2 separate regions of the Homo sapiens genome follow, and region 2 is linked to region 1. Evidence: promoter capture Hi-C in human tissues and cell types (Jung and others, 2019). All regions are on one chromosome and are shown on one strand. The core of a region is centred on a gene start or on the middle of the fragment in contact, and the rest is flanking DNA. Distances in the headings are between cores, read along the strand shown.

The links. Contacts are between HindIII fragments. The study calls those that stand out against the background at their distance.
Region 2: a contact is called between a fragment that was not itself captured here and the fragment with the promoter of KRR1 in region 1, in 2 of the 25 tissues and cell types used here (heart left ventricle and mesendoderm cells).

Annotation. Positions count from the first base shown.
Region 1 is chr12:75,509,205-75,515,911 of GRCh38, reverse strand. It overlaps KRR1 (KRR1 small subunit processome component), which reads left to right and starts at 4,303. Exons shown (of 10, transcript NM_007043.7): 1 at 4,303-4,399. The coding sequence starts at 4,315. RefSeq lists enhancers at 4,336-4,495, 4,002-4,545, 4,546-5,090. The HindIII fragment of the contact is 10,159 bases long and covers 1-6,707 here.
Region 2 is chr12:75,880,688-75,887,138 of GRCh38, reverse strand. No RefSeq gene overlaps it. Among named protein-coding and RNA genes, the nearest start is that of PHLDA1-AS1, 150 kb to the left of the region's middle. The HindIII fragment of the contact is 7,794 bases long and covers 1-5,147 here.

The DNA of each region.
Region 1 (6,707 bases), core at 3,054-5,553:
GCTTTTACTTTTTGCCAGTATAAACAATAATAGCTAACACCTATTAAGTGTTTATCATGTGCTAAGTTTTTTTTTTTTTTTTTTTGCGCTTTACATGTATTAAGCTACTGAGGGGTTAGGTTATTCTCCCCATTTTAGAAAACTGAGCAGGAGTAGGTAAGAAACGCCCCAGGCTATATAGCCAATAGGTGGCAAACTAGTCAGTATGGCTCCAAAGTATATTTCACTAAACTACTTTTATAGAAGGTAGTAATCAACACTATTGTAGAAACATTCTAATTGAATGGTCCTTTATTTCTATTCAATAGTTTATCTGGTGTGGAATTACTGCAGAACCATATGTGTGTATTTTATATTGCTAAATTGCTCTGCAAAAAGGCAGTAACAGTTTACATTTGCACTAGCCATGTATGAGACTATTCTTTCCTCTAGCAGTATTTTTTTTAAATGTATGTTTTTTATTTCTTTTCTTTTTTTTCAATCTGGTGGGTGAGAAGTGATATTTCATTGTTAAGTCTGTATACTTTGTTGACAGTAGTGAGGTTGAACATCATATGTTCGTCAGTCATTTGGATTAGCTCTACTATAAATTGTTGTATTAGGGCTCTCCAGAGAAACAAAACCAATGTGTGTGTGTGTGTGTGTGTGTGTGTGTGTGTGTGTGTAATTTATTTTTATTTATTTTAAAAAATTGGTTCACATGATTATGGAGGCTGGCGAGTCCAAAATCTGCACGGTAGGCTGGCAGGCTGGAGACAAAGACAAGACAATGCTGCAATTCAAGTACAAGGGACTTCTGCTGCACAATTCTTCTTTCTCAGGGGAGGTCAATGTTTTTGTTCTATTCAGGTCTTCAACTGATTGGATGAGGACCACCCACAGTATATAGAGGACAATCTACCTTACTCAAAGTTCACTGATTTAAATGTTAATCTCATCTAAAAGTACTCTCACAGAAACATCCATAATAATGTAGGCCCAAATATCGGGACAATATTACCCAGTCAAGTTAACACTTAAAATTAACCATCACAAATATCTACTAATATATTTTCCGTTTTTCTTTTCTTTTTTTGAGATGGAGTCTTGCTCTGTCACCCAGGCTGGAGTGCAGTGGCATGATCTCGGCTCACTGCAACATCTGCTTCTTGGATTCAAGCGATTCTCCTGCCTCAGCCTCCCTAGTAGCTGGGACTACAGGTGCGTGCCACCATGCCCCGCTAATTTTTTGAATTTTTAATAGAGACGGGGTTTCACCGTGTTAGCCAGAATGGCCTCAATCTCCTGAACTCGTGATCCGCCCGCCTCGGCCTCCCAAAGTGCTGGGATTACAGGCGTAAGCCACTGCCCTCGGGCTTTCCTCATTTTTTGATTGAATTGCTTACATCTTTTTATCGCCTTGAATATTATTGTAATCAACCCATTAAATGTTTTGCGAATATTTTGCCCTCTTTTATATCCTTTATTTTTTTACCCTATTTCTCATCATTTTAAATTTTAAATTATTATTTTGAATACTTTATAATCAGTGAATCATTGAAATTGAGATGAAAATTTGGACACTGTCATTTTGATAATCACTTTTGAGTTTATAGTCTTCTAAGGTGATTTTAGGAGATTTTTCAATATTTATTTTCAATATGTATTCAATAAATATTTATAATTTTTAGTCATTATTCAATATTTATTTAAAATCAAATTGTTCTTTCAATTCTAATGAATTTTTGGAAGATGTTGAAATTAGATCTGCTCTTTTCCAAAGTAAGGAATCTAGAGCAAATAGTTCCCACATGTGGAAACTATTGTTAAGAGGTTTTAAAAGTTTAAACTACTCATATGTAATATTGGTTACAATGTTTAATTCTTAGAAGAACTAGTCGAATTAATTTCGGAATTTGTTTATTCCATACCACGTTTATTTTAAAATTTTTCTTCAAAATTGCTTAAAACATAGTCTAAGCAAATTGTTGAAACGTTGTTCTCATTCAATTTGACTGTCAATTTTAATTTTTAGTAAGTATATATATATGTGCTATTCCTGCTTGTCAAGCCAAAATATGAAAATTCAGTTAATGAGTAACAATATTTAAGCATCAGAGTCTGTTTTAAAACTGAAAAAAAAATGTATGTGTACTAAGGAAAAGCTTCAGCCTCTCAGTCTCATGCAATTTTCTATTCATTTAATTTTTATACATTACTTCTTATAACTACTAGCATCAAATTAGTATCTTGCTATATTTTATCTCATATTATCACAGAGGAAAAAGTACTGTATAATTATATATACCCTTCAGTATATGATTAATAGTCATTATAATTAATATTTTTAAATTAATTTGTGATTTTTGTTGCAGGATTCATTTTTTAGTAAAAGCTTTTATATCCTATATGTAAGATAACTCCCTATTCCTGTGATATAACTTGTGTTAGATTATGGGTTCTGGAAGGCAAGTAACAGACTTAAAAAAATTCACTTAACTTCCAATCATATATTGTTTTTATATTGTATATTCAGTTGGTGGACAACATGAGGGCTTTTGAGTTAGGGAAGGGAAAGAATCACTTAATACTGAAATAACTTATTGTAGGAGCCTGATGAATCTTTTCCTTTGGAAAGCAGACAGTTTTAGTGTGGTGTCATCTATAATAGGAGGTCTTGAGGACGTTAGAGAATCTTAGAACTCAATTATTATCCATGTTTTTACACCCCTTTCAGTAATGATTTGGAAAAAGATGTAAAAATTTCAAAAAGGGACAGGTGAACTGTGGGCTCTGCATAGTATGGTAATTAAAAGGTTGGGTTTTACAAACAGACTCAATAGTGCCAAGAAAAGGATGGGTGGGTTTTCGTTTTCCCATCTCCATCATATTCTCAATATTCCTCAAATAATAGCAATACTAAGATTAAAAATATACACGTAAATGGGAAGAAAAGCCTATGTAGAAAATTTTGCTATAAAATAAAGGGCTTTAACACAAATATTATTTCTAGACTATTCCCTCCCCTTAATCCCTATCAGCCCTCTAACACATTTGAAGCTCCTAATGAATAGTAGCCCCCTGAAGCTGCTAGGTCAAACTGCCTGAACTTGAAGACGGGCCTTCCACTTATTAGTGATTGAGTTACTTAAAATAAGAATGATAAAAACCTGCTTCATGAGGTGTACTCCTCACTTTATAACTTTCACCTGCTGCTATCTGTTCTATTTTAGGAATTTATCATTTTTTGAGGAAATTAAAAGAACAGAGATAAAATCCCTGTCATTTATAAAACTCACAGGATAAAAACAAAAAACCCCTCTGTCGTGGGTTCTTCTGTCCATATGTAACAATCTGTTTCATACCTGGATCTCATATATGAAAACCTAAATTATTGTATAAGATACACGAGAGTGGATTTATCAGACAAACGTGTATTTCACTAATGCAAGGAATTTAACCTATCAAAGACTTTCCCTATTTGCTGCAGAAAATTTTAGAAATGCAAGCAATAAAATCAAAATTTAAAAAAATCTTATATTTGGCATGTCGAAGAACTCTTATACTTCCAAAAGTGTAGTTATTTGTAGTTAGTGATGAACCTCTCTACACATCTTAGCCCTATGTAATGTTGGGGGTAGAAAAGGAGTTTAGAGATTTTGAGAAATCTTAGGCTAGTTGAAATACTTCAGAAACGTCAGGATGTTGAATTACCATCCCTCTGACTTAGAGAAATACCAACACTCGGGAAGATTACCATCAGAAACAACTTTGAAAAGTTTAATTTTGTCACTGTTTTTAAAATTAGAAATAATGTAAATAAAGTACTGAAACAAAGTAGTCTCACAATAAATAGTAGCTATTCCTGTCACTTGTTGCAGTGGAGGCCCAATATACATTGTATTCTCATATTTGTACTTCCTCCCAACATCTAGCGCATATTTGGCCAACATATAAATATTTATCGAAAGAATGAATGACATCAATGACAGGTTGGTAGCACTCCGCTGTCCGATGGTCCAGGTTAGGCCGTGAGGCCACGAGGAAACTACGGATAAAACAGTATCCAATTTGCCTATACCGCCTGCTAAACTACAAGTCCCAGTACGCAAACTCCATGGTTTCAGGGCATACTGGGAGAAAGTCTCCGGCTCTTCATTGGCCACGTAGGAGAAGCTGTGGTTTGTGTAAAAGCGCGGGCTTAACGCACGTACGCACGGAGACTGCGCAGATCTCCTCGTCTGAGTTCCGCGGAACTCATTTTGAGTGTAGGCGTTTTAGCCGGTAGGGTTTAAGAACAGTTTCATTTCCGGAGCCACCGGAAGCAGCTTGCAAATGGCGTCTCCCTCGCTGGAGCGGCCAGAAAAAGGCGCTGGAAAAAGTGAATTTCGTAACCAGAAGCCGAAGCCGGAGAACCAAGGTGATGTTATGTGGGAACCGAAGCCTGGGGTTTGTGTACGTTGAGTTGCGATGTTTTTTTCTTTCGTTCCTCGTGGACTTATAAAACCACCTGGAGCCTGTACTGTGTAGTTGAGTACCTGAATAATCGCTGATAAGATTTTGGCTGGGCCCACAGGAACGGCTGGCCGATATGGTGCCACCCAGGTGTTCCTAATTCATTGCTTTTGCTAAAGGGTCCCCAAAGCGAAGCTGTTGCGGATTACGTCTTTTGTAAAAGGATGAGTATTAAGAAAATGCCTAGGGCGACGCAGAACCTTGTAAGCCTGCGGGTGGCTGAAAGTCACTGACGGAATGAGGAATAGGGTGAGGTGGGAATAGGTAGTCATGATATACAAGAGTGGACCCTGATAATGGGGTGAGGTATGGGGAAAGGAGCTATCCGACATGTCCTTAGCTCTAGTTTGTCAGTAAAGACATTTTGAAAGATTATCAATTCCTGTTTGTCAGATGCTAAAATATTAGACGACACAGCCCTTACTGTTTAGGTTGTGTTACCTTTTAATTGTTAACTCCTGCGTTGTAGTCTGGTTTTACCCGTTTTCTTCAGTGTGAATGATAGAGAAGTCATAAATAGCCTGGGGATCTGTTCAACCAGGCTTATAGGAAGTGTTAAAAACATTGAACTCTCAATTTAGATGCATTGGGAAAGTATTCAAAGTTTCTTTGTTGTTGCTCATTAAATGATTATGTAACGTACATAGCAGGGGATACAACTTATATAGAGTTTAATAAAACCATGCGGGAAACTAGCATTCAGACTAAGTAAAATAGAGCATTACCATACCCCTCAAACCCTTACGTGCACCTCTCAGATCATATTCTCTTTTCCTGTATCAGACGTAACCACCCTGAATTGTGTTGCATTCTGTTCCTCTTCTTGTAGTCATGAAGTGGCTTAATTTAGCCTGTTTTTTAATTTTATATACATGAAAGTGGACCGTATGCATTTTTCTGTGTCTTCTTAGATTTAGCTTTTTGTTTTTCAAACAGGGTGATACTTGCGGGTGTAGTTTTAGTCTTTTCACTGTTATGTGGTGTTTCCTTGTATGAATATACCCCAATTTATTTTTTCATTTTACTATCGGTGGACATTTGGATTGTTCCCAATTGCTTGCAATTATAAACAATACTGCTAAAACATCTTTGTACATGTCTTCTGGTTAACATGTTCAAGGGTTTCTCTAGGTTGTGAACATAGGATTGGAATCACTGAAGTGTAGGGTGTGTGTAAGTAATGCTAACTTTTTTCCAAAGTGCTAGTGTCAGTTTTGTTCCCACTAGGAGTGGACGAAAGTTGTCATTGCCTTACATTAGTATGAATACATGTTATCTGAATTTTGAATTTCTGTCATTTTGGTAGTTATGAAATGGTATTTGGTTGCAGTTTTAGTTTGCATTTTCTGATCACCTATGAGGTTGCATATCTTTTCACATGTTTTGAGGCTTCCTTAATTGTGAAACTCCTGAGTATTTCTTTTGTCAGTTTTTTTCCTGAGGTTGTAGTGGGGATTTTAAAAAAAATTATCCATAGCCTTTGAAGTGTTTAAATTGGATAGGGACTTCGTCAGGTAAACATTGTAAGTAACTAGTTGCAGTGACTCACACCTGTAATCCCAGCACTTTGGCAAGCTGAGGAGGGGGGATTGCTTGAGCCCAGGAGACCAGTCTGGTCAACATGGCAAAACCCTTTCGCTACAAAAAAAAAAAAAAAATTAGCCGGACATGATGGCACATGCCTGTAGTACCAGCTACTTGTGAGGCTGAGGCAAGAGAATAGATCGCTTGAGTCCAGGAGGTCCAGGCTGCAGTGAGCTGGGATGGAGCCATTGCACTCCAGCCTGGGTGACAGAGCGAGGCCCTGTCTTTAAAAAAAAAAAAAAAAAAAGAAATGTGTATAGTATATAAGTAATCACTTTTGTGGAATTCGTGTTCTTTAAAGGACATTGGAGAATCCTTTATATGAAGACTAGCCAATTGTCTGTGATTTGAACCAGAAATAGCAACGTGGATGTGAGTATAAGCAGAAAGTTTACCTGTCTGAGGCTGCTAACATAGGGTAATGACGTGTTTTTCAAACTTTACCGTGCTTAAGAGTCTCCTGTTGAGCATGGTAAAACACAGATTCTTGTCCCTCGTCGAAGAGATTCTCATTCAGTAGGTCTGTAGTGGGGCCCAATAATTGCATTTCTGACAGACTTACAGTTTGTGCTGATACTGCAAGTCTATGGATCATACCTTTGAGTATAACTGAATTAGAGTATAGCTAT
Region 2 (6,451 bases), core at 1-2,500, 370 kb before region 1:
CACCACATTTCCCTGCATTGGAGTGAAAAAGTAATTCCTAACATATTGGGAGAACAAGGACATTTTCTACTCAAACAATAAATTAGGTTTCCATATTATATTACTTAAAGATGGATAATTCAAAGGCTGAAGAAAATGACAAAGGTGTAGGAAAACAAATTATGGAGAAAAATCAAGAAGAATCAAAATTGTTTAGCTCAATGAGAGCTGAGAGGTGAAAGAGGAAGACTTGGAAAGGTCTGAGGATGGTAGTGTTATACTATGGGTTATTGGATATAGTGAACAGAGAGGGTGTTCATTTTCACTGATGTCAAAAAACTTCTTTCAAGAAATTATAAAAGGAATAAGCACTCATATAAATGAGGGTTTTGGTTGACGAAGAGCTTGAAGGGCTTATCTTCAGGATGTCCTCGGAGAGAGACAATAATGCTGAATTTTGAGAGTCTTACCTTCAAACACATTACAGATAAGAGGTTTGAGTGTAAAATCAAGAATAGGAAATCATTGGCTATTAGGCAAGAAAAGATGCTGTGATCTTCTGGTCTAACTTTCTTCTTTTATAGGGACCCACAGGGGTTTGGATTCCAACCCAAGGTCACTCAGCTAGTATGCAGAATTGCTGCGGCAAGTCTCATTTTTGTTCTTTTACTAACTTGTTAAATGGGCTTAGGCAAGTTATTTAAACGCATAATATTAAATATAGATAGGGTAATGCATGAACTGCAGGAAGGTGTAATGAGAATGTAATGATTTAAAATATTGATTCCTATGTAATTGAAAATCTACATGAGTCCCATGTGGCTCAAAAATCTTAGCATTTTAAAGAGGTAATTAAACTGAAAATGTGAACATGTGGCACTTTATTTAATGTCCTTTTTGTAGAATCAGAACCTGAGGGGGAAAATCTGTGATTAAATGCTCTGCAGGCCCCCAGAGCACCCCATCCATGTAATTGTGCTTTTATTGCAGTAAAGCATAAACTTTTTTTTTTTTTGCAGTAAAGAATGCTTTTATTGCTTTCTTATCCAGTAAGAAAGCAAAAACCATAGGGCTATTTATTGTAAAAGGGCCTCCTATTGTTTCCTACCCCTTCTTCTTCATACGTAGCTTGATTTTGCCTTTGTGAGAAAGTTTTATAATAAGAAAAATTTTGGGCTGGGCGCAGTGGCTCACGCCTCTAATCCCAGCACTTTGGGAGGCGAAGGTGGGTGGATCATAAGGTCAGGAGTTTGAGACCAGCCTGACCAGCATGGTGAAACCCCATCTCTACTAAAAATACAAAAATTAGTCAGGTGTGGTGGCGGGCACCTGTAATCCCAGCTACTTGGGAGGCTGAGGCAGGAGAATCGCTTGAACCCGGGAGGCAGAGGTTGCAGTGAGCTGAGATTGCACCACTGGACTCTATCCTGGGCAACAAGATCAAGACTCCAACTCAGAAAAATAAAAACTATTTTGTTATTTCATGCAGAAGGGCCAGTATTTAAACTATAGAAAGGAAACTTTTTTGCCATAGAATTTTCTCTATTTTAGTAATTCGTTCTTGTTTTCTTTCTCTTCTTCCTCAAATCTTATTGTTGTTGAACAACAGAATTATGTTCTGTAACTTGCTGTATCTTAAAAATAGGGAAAGCTACATTATTGGTACATAAATGGAAAATATACAATAATATCTTTATCCAATTAAGTTTTTGAACCATAATTTTAAAAAGTAAGCTTATTAACTTAGATGTAAGAGAAATTTTTGAAAGGCACATACTGAAATTGATTTGCTGAGCTTTGATAATGGTTCAAACTTTTTTTTTTTTTTTACCTTAGACATAATGGAATAAATCAAACTAAATCTTTAAAAATAGTACCCCAATTTTAGCAGAGCACAGTCTTTTTAGCACATCAATTCATATATAATTTGTTTTTATATTTCTCTTGGCATTTGGGAGAGTTTCTTTTCATTTTTACTCTTTTTTAAAAGTGGTTGGATTCTGAAGATTGTATCCCTTTTGGTTTCCTTCAATCACTTTGTCACATCTCCTTAGCAACTTATAATTACCTACTGAGGAAGATAGTGCTTCAGTTTCCTAGTGAGAAAGTTGAGTATCTGAAAATTTGAGCTTAGTGTTAATCAACGCTATTGCTTTTTGAATTTAAGGGGTAAGTATAAGGTTAAGTGAAAAAGTTTACTTTTTCCATCCTTTCTTCTTGTGTGTATAATGTGTTTTCAAAGGTAGTCCTAAGGCAGGAGATTTGAGCTGACTAGGGATCTTATTATCATGAAGAACTGACAGGTGGCCTAGGAGAGCGCAGGAAGAGGAAGGTGACTGAAACCTGAGCACCAGAACGGTGAAGGTAAGACTCAAACAACGAGCTCCCTCAGCTTCTTGGGGATTATCCTTTAAGGCAAAGAATTCAACCTGAGGTTAGAGATTAGAGGAACCCAGACCGCATTCTAGGATGCTAGTTTATTGTCTTTGAGAGTAACTCTTCAAGTTGTGGCAATCTGAGACATTCTTCCAGTTTTTTCTGCATGAGAAAGATAAGAATAAAGAGGGCAAGGACATTATTTTGTAAGCCAAATAAGGATTTTAATTCTGATGGGGAGAGGAGCCTCTTTCACCTTAGGAATGTTCATTAGTTCATTTTTATTCATTCATACACACATAATGCTATGTGGCAGGCATTATTTGAGATGCTAGAAAACTTAGCAGAACAAAACTTCAGCCCTTGTGAAACTTGTATTCTAATAAGGGAGGCAGAAAATAAGCATATATCATACAGCAAGAAGGGTTACAGACAAAAATAAAGTGGGTCCAGGACTGGAAGAGTGGTAGTGAGCAGGGGGCAGGAATTATTGTAGAGCTCAGGGAAGACCCCTAGGATAAGAGGACCTGAAAGAAGGGTGGGAATGAGTCACAGACACCTGGGGAAGAGGATCTCAACATGTGAGAAGAGGTCCATGCCTAGTGTGTGCAAGGAGGAACATGGAAGCCAGTTTTGCTGAATCCTAATGACTGGGGGTGGTGGTGGTGTGGAAGATGATAAAAGAAAGATGGGTTGTAGGGCAGTCAATGAAGGATCTTGTAGATTCTTATAGGAAATTCTGCTGATTCTTATAGGAAATTCTGCTTTGACTAAGTGAGACGGAAAGCCCTGATCATAAGAGTGAAATACTGATGTTTAAAAGGGCCATCTGATGACTGAGTGGGAGAATAACTCTAGCAGGGCTAAGGTAGAAGCAGGGGCCCCCATTGGGAGACAATTACAATAATCCAGGCAAGAGGAGATGGCAGCTTGGATCAGGGTGGTTAACAGTGGAGATGTGAGAAGTGGTGGGAATCTGACCCCTCTGATGGTGGATTCAAAAAGATATGCTGACAGATTGGAGGTCTAGTGTGAGAGAAAGAGAGAAGGCAAGGATGATCGTAACTTTAAAGTGTGGAACTGTCCATCACTGAGATGGGGAAATCATTGGAGGAGCAGGTTTGGTTCAGTTTTAGGAAACAAGTCTGACATGATAATCAGATACCTAAGTGGAGACGTTGACCAAGCAGGTAGATGAGTCTGGGCATCAGGGGAAGTTTAATTTGGGAGTTTTCAGTATGTAGGTGATATTTAAAGGTAAGGCAACAGTGGTGAGAGGAACGATAGGGTATTTGGTAATAACAAGGAAGTAGCAGCTTGGCACAAGATCAAAAATAGCCATGGATTAAGACTTTTGGCAGCAGATGGAGGAGAGCAAAGTCAATAGCAGCTAATGAAAAATGTTTATGACTATCAAGGAGACTGGGGGACCTTGCAAAGGGAAGGCAAGCAGGCCAATTTCAGGGGAGTAGGGGATCAGTGACACAACTTAACGGAGGCTCAGATCCTGCTGCAAGCATGATTTTTACCCAAAACACATGACTGTTTTGCTAGGTAGGTGTGGCCTAGTAAGGTAACAGGTACACCTTCACAATATTGAATTACAAAGGTACTTGGATTTTGAATAATTAGCTTTAAGTCTTCTATTTCTGATTGTAAGTTCTTTAAGAGAAGATTCAATGTTAAAATTCATTTTTATATTTTGCATGGAGCTTAGAACAGAAGGCTTTGTATTTCATAGGTGTTCAACAGATATTTCTTGAATGAATTGATGAAAACAATACTAAAAGCTTCAGATATCTCCCAAAGGTGCCTCAACAGGAGTAGTTCCCATGAGGATTAGCCATGCTGGGGTCTCTTGGACAAAAGGCTGGTACTGATTGAAAAATTCCCTGAGTATGTCTAGAAGTGTCAGGCTCCTCTGGAATCAGTTACAGTGGGATTGGCTGCTTAGGTATAATCTTTATAAGATTAAAAATTATAGATTATTTGGCAGCTTGTTTGAAAGTGTTGGTCCCAAGAAAAAGTTCTGCTGTGTGTTATGGCAGAATTATTAAAAAAAATACATTCTTAAGTTGAGGTTTCTAAGTAGGCTTTTGTAAAAACAGGCAATTACTTGCTGGAGGCAGTTAATTGCATGCACAGATGGGTACTTGTGTTACAAATTCCTCATTTGCACTTGTGATTACCCATTTGCAATAATTCATGAAACCTAGGGAATTCTTAGGTACAAGGAAAGGTTTTAGGCATTTAAAAAACGTATCACTACCATCAGAGGAGATGGAGAAAACAAAGAGCTAAGTATAAAGCCTTATTCCAAATGCTAAGTTCAGAGAATATTTTCTGAAGCTCGCGGTTGTTGAGGGTAAGAGGTTTACTAAGCTATTGTTTCCATGGACTCTCTCAGCTTTAAAAAAAAGAAAGAGAAAGAAAGAAAACAGTATTTCATCATTTCTCATTTCATTTTATTTTTCATATAACTTTCTGCTAATGGTGGTCTCTGTCAAAATGTTTCTAGTTTGATCATAAGTCTGGTTAGCAGAGTTTTTTTTCTGAAAAAATGCACTCAAAATTCTTTGACATTACATAAAATCATACATCTGAGTGAAAAGTGGATAAAAATCCCCAGTCTTCCAAGGTTGTGGTAAAATGTCAAGGAGTCTTGTTTTTAGAAGCTGTTATCATGACAGCCCAGTGCTGTGATAAATGAACAGTGAATATAAACAAAAAAATGAAAGAAATTCCCCTTCCCATCAAAATATGAGCACTGACTTGAAGAAATATTTCTTCTTAAAATATTTACTTTTTATAGAAGTAATTTTTAATAATTGAAGAGCCTGAAATAAATGCTTTGTGAGGAAAACTGTCCTATACCAAGATGGTTATGTGCTATGTCAGCCTTTAGTACTGAAAAGGGAATGAACCTGTCAAACTTTCTATCCTATGGAAGCTACAAACAACTTTTACTCTAATTCCCTCAGTGTATTGCTCATGATTTGTTATTTTATTTTGGCAGTTGGATCGAATGTCCAAAACATTTTGGGGAAAGAAGGCAGGGAATAACCTATCTCACGGAAGCAATTTAGTTGGGGGGACAATAGTTTGAAAGCCTACAGACCCTGAATTTCCTTTTGGCTTTAGAGAACTGCTTAGGGATGTGGGATAGAGGAGCTAGGGTCTTCAGCCTGAGAGATCTAGCATAATCCTTGATTTGGGGAATTCCCAGTGAAGATCAGGTCAGTTCTTGGAGTCTGTTATGGTCGTCTATTCTTGTGTACATTACCCCTGCACCAAGAAGATCCAAACTTACGAAGCATTGTATCAGTCAAGATAAACTAAGCAGTGCTGCAGTAACAAACTATCCCCAGATCTCAGCAGCCTAAAGCAACATAGGCTTAATTCTCTTGTGCTATCTGTTCATGATGTGTCCATACCTGGGAGCTAGACTCACTCTGGGACCCAGACAGATAGAGCATTATCCATCGTTAATACTGAGCAGTTGGTCATGCCTTTAATCCCAGTGTTTGGGAGGCTGAGATGGGAGGATTGCATGAGCTCAGGAATTAGACACTAGCCTGGGCAACACAGCAAGATTTCATCTCTACAAAAAATAAAAAAAATTAGCCAGACTTGGTGGCACATGCCTGTGATCCCAACTACTCGAGAGGCTGAGGCAGGAGGATCACTTGAGCCCAGGAGGTTGAGGCTGCAGTGAGCTCTGATTGCATCACTGCACTCCAGCTTGGGTAACAGAGCAAGACCCTGTCTCAAACAAACAAACAAACAAACAAAAGCTTACTTCTGGTCACTGTGCTGGAGGAAGGAGAGAGCTCTTAAAAGTCTTGAATTATCAAGTAAATAAGAAGGAGTTTATTTCCCTTTGGCTCACAAGTCACTGGCTGTAACTAGTCATGTGGTTCCACACAACCATAAGGGGGCCAGAAAAGGCAATCCTGTCCTGTGCCTGGAAATAGGGAGAACCAGAAATATTTGGCAGACAGCACTAACAACTATCACTATTGGTTTCAGATGGAAATGAACCCCACAGGATGTTCTTTCATTGATTCCAGGAGCCACAGACTCATGGCTTGATGTA